Linked DNA regions of Homo sapiens: region 1 is linked to region 2. Evidence: promoter capture Hi-C in human tissues and cell types (Jung and others, 2019). All regions are on one chromosome and are shown on one strand. The core of a region is centred on a gene start or on the middle of the fragment in contact, and the rest is flanking DNA. Distances in the headings are between cores, read along the strand shown.

The links. Contacts are between HindIII fragments. The study calls those that stand out against the background at their distance.
Region 1: a contact is called between a fragment that was not itself captured here and the fragment with the promoter of C2orf80 in region 2, in 3 of the 25 tissues and cell types used here (mesendoderm cells, spleen and thymus).

What each region holds. Positions count from the first base shown.
Region 1 is chr2:208,232,583-208,239,819 of GRCh38, forward strand. It overlaps IDH1 (isocitrate dehydrogenase (NADP(+)) 1), which reads right to left. Exons shown (of 10, transcript NM_005896.4): 9 at 6,489-6,651; 10 at 3,647-4,587. The coding sequence ends at 4,497. Among named protein-coding and RNA genes, the nearest start is that of IDH1, 19 kb to the right of the region's middle. The HindIII fragment of the contact is 3,898 bases long and covers 734-4,631 here.
Region 2 is chr2:208,188,005-208,194,855 of GRCh38, forward strand. C2orf80 (chromosome 2 open reading frame 80) reads right to left here and starts at 2,026. Exons shown (of 9, transcript NM_001099334.3): 1 at 1,949-2,026. The HindIII fragment of the contact is 5,855 bases long and covers 1-4,912 here.

The DNA of each region.
Region 1 (7,237 bases), core at 1,433-3,932, 45 kb after region 2:
TTCTTTATATTAGTTTCTAATTTCCTTCTTAATAAGAAGAGCCAAGACCCTTAATTTGGGGGAAATATTTATTATGTAATATTGAAGTAGATGATGGGTCACTTGTTAATATTGTAGAAGGATTTTATGTATCAAGCAAGAACACAAGGGAGCTGTGATTCTGACTGCTAAGATTAAATTTTAAATATTTTCAGTTAGAAATTCTTCCTAAGAAACAGTACCTACAATTTAGAGTTTTGAAGTCTGGAACTCATATGTTCCCTGTCCCTGGATCCTGCTGCCTTCAATGTTGTGCTAAAGAGCAGTCATTTTCTAGGTCAACAATTCTGACCCTCTAGTTGTTACATAATAAACCATCAGCCTCTGAATGTATTGGTCAGCATCTGTTCATTTGCTAATTATTTTAGAACATTAACTGGTTCTTGGCCAAATGCTGATCCTGATAGACATTAGGCCAAATGTTGATCTGCACTCACCAGATCAACTCTGAGGATGCTTGTGAGTGCTGGAGGAACTATTTAAAATCACCCAGTCCAATGCCATCATTTTGTTGTATGTGATGCTTTCATCTCCTACCCAAACCTGAAATGTGAGTCCCAAGTTCTGGTCCAAAATGGCCACTGATGTATTTTGCAACTTTGGTAAAAGTAGTAGAAACAAAACACTTTTTTTTTTTTTTTTTTGGAGACGGAATCTCACTCTGTTGCCCAGGATGGAGTGCAGTGGTACAATCTCAGCTCACTGCAACCTCCGCCTCCCCGGTTCAAGGGATTCTCCTGCCTCAGCCCCCTGAGTAGCTGGGACTACAGGTGACCACCACCATGCCTGGCTAATTTTTGTATTTTTAGTAGAGACGGGGTTTCGCCATGTTGGCTAGGCTGGTCTTGACCTCAAGAGATCCGCCTGCCTCAGCCTCCCAAAGTGCTGGGATTACAGGTGTGAGCCACCATGCCCGGCCCAAAACTCTTTTAAAATTTATTAAAATCTTGTTAATGAAAGAGGAAATGGATGCTCTAACAGTTATGAAGAGTTTACCAGGCAAAAATCTGAAAAAAGAGTAATAAGTTTATTTTTTAAAATTTTTATTATTTTTTTGAGATGGAGTCTCATTCCGTTGCCCAGGCTGGACTGCGGTGGCATAATCTTGGCTCACTGCAACCTCTGCCTCCCAGGTTCAAGTGTTTCTCTTGCTTCTGCCTCCTGAGTAACTACAACCACCACGCCTGGCTAATTTTTGTATTTTTAGTAGAGATGGGGTTTCACCATGTTGGCCAGGCTGGTCTCGAACTCCTGACCTCAAGCCTCCTAAAATGCTGGGATTACAAGCATGAACCACTGTGCTCAGCTGAGTAATAAGTTTAGATGAGAGGAGGAGAGTGCAAAACACATTTTATTTGACAATTTTTTTTGGATGTAAAGTTTAAAATGTTAAAACAATTTGAATTTTATAAAAAGCCAAATATGTAATAATCTGAAGAACACTACATTTAACCAGTATATTGGACATCAAAGGGCTTTAAATATGTTTTTGGCTGGGTGCGGTGGCTCACGCCTGTAATCCCAGCACCTTGGGAGGCCAAGGTGGAAGGTTGGGAGTTCAAGACCAGCCTGGCCAACATGGTGAAACCCCATCTCTATTAAAAATACAAAAATTAGCCAGGCTTGGTGGCCGGCACCTGTAATCCCAGCTACTTGGGAGGCTGAGGCAGGTGAATTGCTTGGACCCAGGAGGCGGAGGCTGCAGTGAGGCAAGATCACACCGTTGCACTCTAGCCTGGGCAAAAGAGCAAGACTCCATCTCAGAAAAAAAAAAAAAAATCTATTTTCCAAAGAGAGAAAGACCTGTGGCCTTTTGGAAGAAAATATCAGCTCCACCTTTAAGTTAATTATTAATAACATCTCTAATTTTTTGCTTTCTCATAAAAAAATCAGTGCTATAGAGTCAACTTCTTAAGACTTTGGTGAGAATTAAATGAGATAGTATGAAGGCACATAAAAAGAATTTACATTCCTTTTCCTTATAATCCCAATCTATCCTATTAAAAAAACTTACAGGTATTAATGTTAAAATGAGTCATTGGCATGTCGTTATATTGAGGCAAAGACTAGTTGAATTTATCAGCAAAAAGCCACCAGAGAAACAACGATTATGTGTCTTGTATTCTAATTTACGTAGATCTCTATTCTTTTTACAAAACTACAGATAATATAGGTTATAAAATCTTTTACTGAAAAATCTTAAAAATCTTACATGAGATGAAAATATTTATTGCCTCTTTCTTGATGTTAACTAGAAGCAATGCTTTTTTTTTTTTCCTACCACCTGAGTGACCTGACACTGGTTGATCTCATGTGAAAATTGATTTTTATTTCCCTTGCCAGGAGAGCTCATGTGGTTTGGATTCTAACTTCAATTTGGCCAGGAATAAATTGCCCAAGCCACATGGGCCTCCCCTACTTCATGAGAATCTCCTCTCAACAGGGTGTTCTAGGACTGTGGGCTTGGATTTGGATGTATTTTGGGGGTAGCACTGAGGGAAATTGGTCAAAAGCTCATTCTGAATAAGCTCCATGCCATCGGATTCTGAAAGGCTCCATGTTTCATTGGGCCTTCAAGGGGATTTGTGTAGAGCAGTGTCTGGGGCCCAACTCCAAGCTTGCCAGGAAGGTAGACTAGAAATTACCAAGGGTCCCCACCCCAACTCACTGACTTCTGACGTGTGAGAGCGCAAAAGCTCACCAGGGCCTCCCTCCCAGAGATGCTAGGATGTGGAGCAGCCTTTCCCCAGGTGTGAAGCCAGAAAGTGGGAAGCATCTTTGACTTGCTGCTGTCCCTCCATCCCCACATATCCTTGGTCTTGCCAAGACCCATCCATTCAACTTCCTTATCCCAGGGATTATCCCGTTCTCTTCCTGGTGCCACTGTTCCAGTCAGATCTTCATCATTTCCCACTAAAGTATCGCAACAGCCTCCTAACTGGTCCTCCTTCCTCAACTGCACCCAACAGTCTCCTCCCCACCCCAAACCATCCATTCTTTTTTCGTTTTTTTGAGACGGAGTCTCACTTTGTCATCCAGGCTGGAGTGCGGTGGTACGATCTCAGCTCACTACAACCTCCACCTCTCAGGTTCAAGCGATTCTTCTGCCTCAGCCTCCCAAGTAGCTGGGACTACAGGTGTGCGCCACCACACCTGGCTAATTTTTGTATTTTCAGTAGAGATGGGGTTTCACCGTATTGGCCAGGCTGGTCTCGAACTCCTGACCTTGTGATCTGCCTGCCTTGGCCTCTCAAAGCCACTATCCATTTTTTATCAAAGTTTCCCAGAGTGCTATTTTTAAAAATAAAAATATGATCAAGTCCCTTATTTCTTAAAAGTCTTCATTGGCTCCCTAATCATTTATAAGATAATGACTAAACTCCTTAGCATGTGCATAGACATAATCTATTCTCTAATATTCCTTAATTCTTCCTGTAGTTCCCTCTTTGGTCCTCTTTCCTTTCACTGCAGGATCTACATCTTACTATTTACTTATCTATTTCCACCATGGTAAACTTTTTAAGAGCAGAGAATTTTTTCAGATTACACTCCTATGGCTAGGATGTAGCGTGGTGCTTGGCATCCAATAAACAGAAACGCAGAAGAATGGTAATTAGCACTTAATTTTAATTAAAATCAACAGTTCAGGAGAAGATAAGATAGTGTTTAATATCAATTTCTGAGAAATCACATTTATATAAAAGAAATAAAACAGGCCAGCAGAAGTCCAAAAAAGATTCAGCTTACATTATTGCACTTGGATGAAATATGCTATTTAGAGTAGTATAATATTCAGGCCAGGCCAGGAGGAGAAAGAGAAAAATGGAGAGGACAAACCTCCAGGTAGTATTTATTCCGGATTCCAAACTCTCCTGCGGCCTAAACAGTATTTAGTCTATTGGAAACATTCAGCAAGGTCTTTACAAAAATGACTGCAGTATCTTCAACACATTTGAGTTGCACTCCTACTTCGTTCCAGTCATGTGCAAGTTTAATGCACAGCTCTACCTCACAAAACGGGATATCTATGACACCAGAACTTCCCTGTGCCCAAGGTCATGGACAGGAGGGGAAGGCAGTGAATTTCTACTTTATGCATATTTTAGGGAGCAATACTGTGGCTATCATTTACCCTTTTGAGCAATCTTGATTTTGGTCATTTATAATTAGAACATGAGAAAAAGTGACAGTGAATACAAATGAGTACTAACCGAATTCCTAGGCTGGTACTAGAAAATAAAATAAAAATTGTAAAAAAGTCCCTTGCCATGTTCACAAAGGTGGCAATAACTGTATATATAAGAAAAAGGCTGTAAACTTATAGAAAAGATAAACTCTGGCTTCTAAACAAATTACAAAATTGATTTTGCCTTTATCCTTGAGTGTAACACAGAAAAATGTAAACCTGTAGACCTAGTTACCAAAAGACAATTATCCTTCTTAGCTCAGGTATGAACTTAAAGTTTGGCCTGAGCTAGTTTGATCTTCAAGTTTTCTCCAAGTTTATCCATGAACTCAAATGTATTCAAGTAGTCAGAACGTTGCACACTAACGGGAAGGAAAAAAAAAAGAAAATTTAGTTGGTCTCTGATATGGTAGCAGGTAGTGGTAAAGTCCTAGAAATGCTACTTAAAATAGTATTCTATTTGTTTCTGGAAGAAAACGCATTCATGTTAGTAAGCTACAAAATCTATAGACAATGACTATGTTCAGGGTTCCTGGGGCTGACCCAGGCTCAGTACTCAGGCTCTCTAGGCAACCGGCAGTAGAGACAGCCATACATACTCAGTTAGGTTTCTTGCTATGTAGCTTTGGGGGTGAAATTATCATTGAGTTTCGGTTCAGACTAATGCTGCTGAGACCAAAATCATCACACTTCTTCCTCATTCTTAAACATAACAAAACTTATTCAGGGCATAGCCAAACCTTTACCCACCTTCCCACAAACCGTTACATGTCCTTAAAAAAAGTTATAATGTTGTTATTTCTATCAGTGTCTTAAGAAAAACAAAAGACAGGCCGGGCCTGGTGGCTCACGCCTATAATCCCAGCACTTTGGGGGGCCAAGGCGGGTGGATCATGAGGTCAGGAGATGGAGACCATCCTGGCTAACAAAGTGAAACCCCGTCTCTACTAAAAATACAAAAAAAAAAAAAAAAAAATTAGCCGGGTGTTGTGGCACAAGTCCCAGCTACTTGGGAGGCTGAGGCAGAAGAATCACTTGAACCCAGGAGGCGGAGGTTGCAGTGAGCGAAGATCACGCCACTGCACTCCAGCCTGGGCAAAGCGAGACTCTGTCTCAATAAAAAGAAAAAAAAAGAAAAACAAAAGACAGGATAACATAATCCTGCTGACAGGTGCCTGTTAAATAGGCTACAAAGGTATTCCACTGATAAGACCATTTTGAACACTGCAATCTTTTTTTTTTTTTTGAGATGGAGTCTCGCTCTGTCACGCAGGCTGGAGTGCAGTGGCACCATCTCGGCTCACTGCAAGCTCCGCCTCCCAGGTTCACGCCATTCTCCTGCCTCAGCCTCCCGAGTAGCTGGGACTACAGGTGCCCGCCACCACGCCTGGTTAATTTTTTGTATTTTTAGTGGAGATGGGGTTTCACTGTGTTAGCCAGGATGGTCTTGATCTCCTGACCTCGTGATCCACCCACCTCGGCCTCCCAAAGTGCTAGGATTACAGGCATGAGCCACAGCACCCAGCGAACACTGCAATCTTGTTGGAAATTTAAATTAAGAAACATGCAGTGACCAAGTATATCCCCATTATGGGGTATACTGACCCTACCTGGGACCTCTGCAGATGCACTGGTTGAGATATGGAGACAATCCCCCCAGGATACTGGCTACTATGTTCTCAGAAAAATTCTCAGTAAACATATGGGCTGTCAAATATTTGCCCAAATATTGGTTACAGATACTTAAGGGACTGTAATCAATTGCACACCTTAAACTTGTGCTGCTCACTTTTCTCATCAGTAAGTTAAAGAAAATAAAGGAGTAGAATAAAATAGCCTCTGAAGTATCTTTGTTTCTATTTGTCTATAATCTGCTTCTTAAAATTAAATAGAACCTTTTCGTTCAATGATTATCAACTAGATGGGATGTCAGCAAATTACAGCCCAGCACATGAACCAAATCGAGGCTGGTTTTGAACATAAAAGTTTGATTGGTACCAGCCACACCATTTGATTCTGTATTGTCTATGACTGCTTTCCTGCTACAATGGCAGAGGCAAAGTTGAATAGTTGTGTAGTTGCAAAAAGACTATATGTTCCACAAAGCCTAAAATGTTCACTATCTGACAATTTACAGATATCTGCTGACTCCTGAACTAGATGATGAATAACAATTTATATAATTCCAGAAAGCACCGATGCTCTGAGCCCAGTGAGGATAAGTGTTAATTTGACCATAGAAACTAGGGCATCTTATACTTACTTGGGTAAACCTTTAATGCAAGCAGCCAAGTCCTTGGTCATGAAGCCAGCCTCAATTGTCTCAATAGAGACTTCTTCCAAAGCATTTGCAAAGAAGGCAAGCTCTTTATTGTTATCAAGCTTTGCTCTGTGGGCTAACCCTCTGGTCCAGGCAAAAATGGAAGCTAAAAGAGGGGAAAAAAAACACAACACTCCAATCATCCTAGTTATAGAGGTTTCCAAATGTCTCATAGTTCCCCAAAACAGAATAGTTTTTTGTTTAGGTGACAGACTTCTTTAGATACTAACCACATGGGCTAGAAGTTTTAGGAGAGTTAGAAATATTTTACCAAACAGAAACTTTAAAAAAACACATTTTCATGGCATGGTACTAGTGTTTGAAACTTAAGGCATTTTCTAATTTGAAAAAGGTCACAATCTCTTCTATCTCTTGTCTATATTGGTCTCCTTTTTCCAGGCTGTAATCTCTTTTTGAAGTGCTATCTTTGAAACTTGTTAAAAGGATCTATCCATGTGACTTTTAGATTTGTAGCCTTATGTGACATTTCACTGCACCAGAGGTAAAGGAAAATGCTTGTTGATAACATTCCTCTCTGTAACCTATGTTCTCCCACAAAACAGAAAAGCAAATATTGTATATTTTAAGAAGCATATTCAAATAGATCTTACTAGTAGAACAAATCAGCTACTTGGTGATGACTTTGCACACAAAACACTGAGCAGCCAAGGGAACACATCTGGGCTGCTTTG
Region 2 (6,851 bases), core at 776-3,275:
CTGGCCAAGACTCCACAATCATGTGAGCCAATTCTGTAAAATCAAAATATTTGAAAGAGATGGTTAAGCCTATACTGCACCGTGTGTGTGTGTGTGTGTGTGTGTGTGTGTGTGTGTGTGTGTATCCACACACATCCTGTCAGTTCAATTTCTCTGAGGAACCCTAATACTCAAATATAACAAAATGTTAATAGTTGTTGACTCTGGAATTCTAAGTCCATGGATGTTCATTATACTACCCTTTGTACTTTTAAAATTGTACGTATATTTAAATCACTACTCTAAAGATGATTGGAAAACAAACTTTAGAAACGGTTTTTTGAAAATGGTACCATATAAACACTAAGCTTCACTTGATTCAGCTCTACCAACAGTAAGCAGAGAGCCAACAGGATGGCGCTGATCTAAATGAATGCTTCCCTAGGCCACCTTCATTATTTTGGATTTTTTTTTTTTTTTTGAGACGGAGTCTCGGTCTGTCACCAGGCTGGAGTGCAGTGGCACAATTTCGGTTCACTGCAACCTCTGCCTCCTGGGTTCAAGTGATTCTCCTGCCTCAGCCTCCCAAGTAGCTGGGACTACAGGTGCACGCCACCAAGCCCAGCTAATTGTTTTGTACTTTTAGTAGAGACCGGGTGGTGTCATCATATTGGCCAGGATGGTCTCCATCTCCTGACCTTGTAATCCACCTGCCTCAGCCTCCCAAAGTGCTGGGATTACAGGCGTGAGCCACCGTGCCCAGCCATTTTGGATCATTCTTGCTGCTGCTACATCTGCTTTAGTTTTTGGGGAGTGGACGGGATGTGGATAAGATGAAAGTGGGGAAGAAAGTAAGAGCATTTCACAGGAAATTGATTAAGTATCAAGACAATAATATTGCTCCCTACAGAGTCAATGGGGAGAGGATGCAGCAAGCCATAGAGGTGGCCCTATTGCCTAGAGAAGAGAGAGCACTGGACCCAGGAAAGCCACACTCATTGATGTGGCTGTGCGTCTTCTGCTTCCCAGCCTCAGGTGTTATCCGAAAAAGATGGGCCTGGTTAACATTGCCAAGAGCACTTCTTACCCTAACATTCTGTAACTCTATAAAGTCTGGCATGCATTAAAATTCTTCTGATTCAATAGTTTGGAAAAACATTTGTTGCTAGACTATTTGGCCTATCTCAATTCCTTGGCAGGGAGTAAGGCACAGTTAGCATGTGCTTTAATCCATTCTTGTCTTGTAATTCTGAGAAAGCCCTTTGAGTTTCAGATTTACAAGTTATAATATTTGCATTGCTTCGTTGTTATGACAGCTTCGTCTTAGATCATCCCTCATCCTCCCCATCCCCTGCCCCCACCACCACCATTCAATATGGTATAATATGCAAAGGTTTCAGTCTTTAAAATATGAGTATGTCCCACTCCCAAACCACTAAACTGTAGGTCAGAAGACCCTGTGAGGCCACCAACTAGCTGTGCACCTTGAACAAATTAATTTGCCTATGTTTTTTCATTTCTTCCTCTGTAAAACAAGCGTTGAATGATTGGAGAGGTCCCTTACAGCTGTGGAAGTCAGTGATTTATATGCATTTAGTAGCTACGCCTGGTCTAAAGAAGGCCATTTGCATGGATTCTAATTCAGCTAGATTTGAATTCTGCCAGTTATCCCTCTTCTCTGTCTATAGAGCTCTAAAGAAAACAAGACCGCTGTGTGTTTTGTGTGTGGCTGAAAGCACACACAAAAGAGGTACTGGAAAGATGTCAGCTGTCTCAGGCTTTAGCTGTTTCATAGAAACAATTCCCTAGAAGTCAGAGCCCCCAAATTCTATAGGAATATCATTTCCTGGAGAATATCTGCACATTCCATGCAGGTTCCCTGCTGCACACCTGCAATCGTGGTACAGGTCTCTCGGGCTGTTCTATTAAGTGCCTGCTCTTAACAAATTCCCCTTTGAGAATCGCTCACCAACCGGAGACCGGTTCCAGTGCTTTTGTTCTTTCTCTGCTTCTGGAGGCATGCTGAAGCATCCGCGCATCTCAGACTGGTGCTCACAGACATCAGGAACACATGCTTTTTCCTGGTTGCTAGGAAACAGTGAATGAATTAAAATCATTTGTTTTAAAAATACACTCCCCTACGCCCACCCCCATTAAGGGTTGAGGGAGGGTGGAAAGTCATATATTTGGGACAGGATTGTGATCCTGGCCTGAAGTTCACGTGTCTTTTTACCTGAGTAGGCTTATGTTTCCCATCTAAATGATTAATTGAAAAACCAAGAGGATGGGAGGAGTTTACCTTCCCCAGAGTTTTTTATAGCATTTGGCTGCAGACATAGGAATCAATTGACTAAGCAAGGATTGCTGGGGAAGCTAGTGAAACTCTGGCTCCTACATAGTTAGGGTGCCCCAAAGTACCCAATGACCCAAAGATCATTCTACTCGATGAATGTCAATACAAAACAGTGGCAATCCTGAAGAAACATCACCTGGGTTCAAGCTAGCACCATCTTTCTAATTATAGATGAGATCCCTTTCATGTGCGTCTGTGTGAAGAGACCACCAAACAGGCTTTGTGTGAGCAACATGGCTGTTTATTTCAACTGGGTGCAGGCGGGCTGAGTCCGAAAAGAGAGTCAGCAAAGGGTGGTGGATTATCATTAGTTCTTATAGGTTTTGGGATAGGCGGTGGAGTTAGGAGCAATGTTTTGTGGGCAGGGGGTGGATCTCACAAACTACATGCTCAAGGGTGGGGAGAATTACAAAGAACCTTCTTAAAGGTGGGGGAGATTACAAAGTACCTGCTTAAGCGGGGGGAGATTACAAAGCACATTGATCAGTTAGGGTGGGGAAGAAACAAATCACAATGGTGGAATGTCATCACTTAAGACTATTTTTACTTCTTTTGTGGATCTTCAGTTACTTTAGGCCATCTGGATGTATATGTGCAAGTCACAGGGGATGTGATGGCTTGGCTTGGGCTCAGAGGCCTGACAATCCCTGCCCACACGCCTGCCTCCTAGTCTTAAACACTTGCTCCCTTGCTTAAAGCTTGTTAATGGTTTCTGTCTGTGTCTCCTCTATACCACTAGACTAGGGGCAGAGTTTGTTCTTCTGGCCCATCTACGGCTGGGTGTCTGTTATTGACACCTCTTAATCTTTATTTCCACTCCTTTCCACTGGCCAAGTAAGTCACTTGATTACCTGAGGTCATATTATGAAAGACACTAACAAAACCCTAGATATAGAATTTTCTAAACTAGTTGTTCACTCCATATTGAGTTTATATTGTACCTAGACACTTCCGGGTTTGGTGAGCCTGAAGTTTATACATTATGGGGACCGTCTTTAATAAAAAGAATGCAGAATTGTAAATATGAAACTAATACAAAATTGTATGTTTATTTAGAACTATTAATTACAAGTTACAAATTTTAAAGAGCTGAAAAATACCACAAACAAAAAATCAGTATTAATATTTTCATGATTACTAACTGCCTAACATACACTAAAATTCCTTTTTTTCTTACATACTCTTTGATTATCTGTTAATAGGACCAAGGTTTCATAGTATTTTCTATAGAGAGAATTAAAAAATAATTCAGTCTCTCCTCTACTATGACTGTTTACTTTTATTTATTTATTTATTTATTCATTTTTTTGAGATGGAGTTTTGCTCTTGTTGCCCAGGCTGGAGTGCAATGGTGTGATCTTGGCTCACCACAACCTCCGCCTCCCGGATTCAAGCGATTCTCCTGCCTCAGCCTCTGGAGTAGCTGGGATTACAGGCATGCGCCACCACGCCCGGCTAACTTTGTATTTTTAGTAGAGACAGGGTTTCTCCATGTTGATGAGGCTGGTCTTGAACTCCCGACCTCAGGTGATCTGCCCGCCTCGGCCTCCCAAAGTGCTGGGATTACAGGCGTGAGCCACCGCACCCAGACAATTTTTTATTTTTTAATTAATTTTTTTTTTTGTAGCAATGAGGTCTCACTATGTTGCCCTGGCTGGTCTCAAACTCCTGGGCTCAAATGATCCATCTGCCTTGGCCTCCCAAAGTGCTGGGATGACAGGCATAAGCCACCACGCCCAGCCATTTTCAATTTATTCTAATATTTTGTTTATAATTAAAACTAAACTGTAGGCTGGGTGTGGTAGCTCATGCCTGTCATCCCAGCACTTTAGGAAGCTGAGGTGGGTAGATTGCCTGAGCCTAAGAGTTCAAGATCAGACTGAGCAACATGGCAAAATCCTGTCTCTACAAAAAATGATAAAAACTAGCTGGGCATTGTGGTGTGTCCCTACAGTCCAAGCTACTCAGCAGGCTGAGGTGGGGGGATTGCTTGAACCCAGGAGGCTGAGGCTGTAGTAAGCTGTGATTACACCCCTCCACTCCAGCCTGGGTGAAAGAGTGAGGCCCTGTCTCAAAAACAAACAAACAAACAAACAAACAAACAAACAAACCAAAAAAACAGAAAATAAACTGAGTTATTTTTCTTTTTGACTCCCTATTGTTGATACCTCATTATAAGGTGTTCCACAATTTCTTGATCAAGAGAGCTTTTCACCCAAAGGCAACCTTGGAGAACTTCAACCTTGACCTTGCTAGGCTTGTTCATCCCTGTTAACTCCCTTACCCCTGCCCCCAGCTGAGGCTGCTGCAGCTGGTCCAACTCAGCCAAGTGTTCATCGATCCCAATAGTCACCTTCCCAGCTTCAGTCCTTGAAGGCAAATAGAAGGTCCACGTGTGCAGTGGTCTATCAGGGGCTGGTCATTGCTAAGACTCACATTGATGGAGGTAGTGATGGCAGTGTGCCTATCCCGATGCCATGCCAGTGAGTCAGGAGTTGGGCAGGACTGGTTTTACAAGGTACAGATCACAAAGACCCGGCTGATAAAATGATATGTAGTAAAGAAGCCAGTCAAAACCCGCCAAAACCAGATGGCGATGAAAATGACCTCTAGTTGTCCTCACTGCTCATTATATGCTCATTATAATATATTAATATGCTAAAAGATACTCCCACCAGCACCGTGAAAGTTTACAAATGTCATGGCAACGCCTGGAAGTTACCCTATATGGTCTGAAAGCAGGAGGAATTCCCTCAGTTCCAGGAATTGCCCACCCCTTTCCCAAAAAACTAATGAATAATCCATCCCTTGTTTAGCATATGATTTTTAAAAAACATAAAAATAAACATAAAAAACCCACAAAAACATAAAACATAAAAAAACATAAAAATAGCCAACCAGCAGCTCTGCCTATGGAGTAGCCACCCTTTTATTCCTTTACTTTCACTTTACTCTGTTGGCTTGCTCTTGAATTCCTTAATGTGCGAAGGCAAATATCACAGGGCCTTTGGTGTTCAGCCTGTGACATCCTTTCTGACAACAAATGAAGGGACAATGGAGACCTCCCCCTGAAACCCAGACTAAAACCAATTGGCACCATTCAGACCTGATGGGTGGGTGAGTCTCCCTTTGTCCAATTTCAACTTGCTACTTTTTTTTCCCCTTTGATTTTGGCTCCTCTGTCCTTTCCTATGTTCGTTATTTTAGACAGGTGGGGAAGTGGCTGTGAGACCTCTGGCTTGGTAGCCTGATTGCAGTCTTCTGTTGTGTGGGTGCCCCAGACATGCAGCATGCCTGGCAAGTCATGTCCTTTGTAACCCACCTTGTCATCCCTTCTCTTGAACCCAAAAGTCAAAGAGATCAGATAATGCAATGCAAAACAGAGCAAAGCCTTAGATTTTGAGAGGAATCTATCTACTTAGAATTCCTGGGGTTCCGGCCCAGCGCCGTGCCTCACGCCTGTAATCCCAGCACTTTGGCGGGCGGATCACGAGGTCAGGAGATCGTGACCATCCTGGCGAACACGGTGAAACCCCGTCTCTACTAAAAATACAAAAAATTAGCCAGGCATGGTGGCGGGTGCCTGTAGTCCCAGCTACTCAGGAGGCTGGGGCAGGAGAATGGCGTGAACCCGGGAGGCGGAGCTTGCAGTGAGCCGAGATTCCGCCAAAATTGTGCCACTGCACTCCAGCCTGGGCGACAGAGCAAGACTCTGTCTCAAGAAAAAAAAAAAAAAAATTCCTGGGGTTCCATGAGGAAAACAGAATTTTTTCCCAAAACGGAGTCTGTGGCATGCTTTCAAATATAAACAGACTGCTTTAAGGAGTCAAAGTTGACTTATAGAGCCAATAAAAGCCCCTTGGGAAAACTGGCCTCACACCTTGTCTATGCAGTCCCTGTACAGGGTTCTTGACTTGTGGTAAGTAAAAATGTCACTTTCTGACAGGCCCAGGAGCCCCAAGTTACCTTGGGACCTCGAGAGGAGAGGAATTCACCCAACTCATAAAGGCGTTTGTTGGCACAGATAAATCTGTGGCTGGGCTCAAGACCTTAAAAAACCTAATCTGAGATTATTTATGTAACAAAGTTCCATCAAAGCCTATTTACAAAGAGCCTATATGGCAGATAATTATTCTTGCTGCCCTTTATGCAAAAATCAGGCAAAATATAATAAGACTAAAACTTATTTTGCAAACAAATTGGTCCTACCACGATTTATCTTTTATAAAAATGAGAGACTTCAGAGAGAAAAAATTATACTACAAAAAACTATAGTACACGTGTTGTTAGATTCTAGTCTTGACCATTGTTTTTTGGGTTTTTATTATTGTTCAAAATTTGGACTGACTCCTAAATTCTTTCTGGGTTACAAGTCCCCAAACTGTTTTCAAATTTTTCTTCCATTTTTCTGAGTAAATTCAAAATCACTACTACCTTCCTCCTGAGGCCCTGCAAGCTAAAGCTTATTCCTTGTGATATAGATGAGAAAAATGTGTGAGGTTGCCGCTGCCTTCCTGCT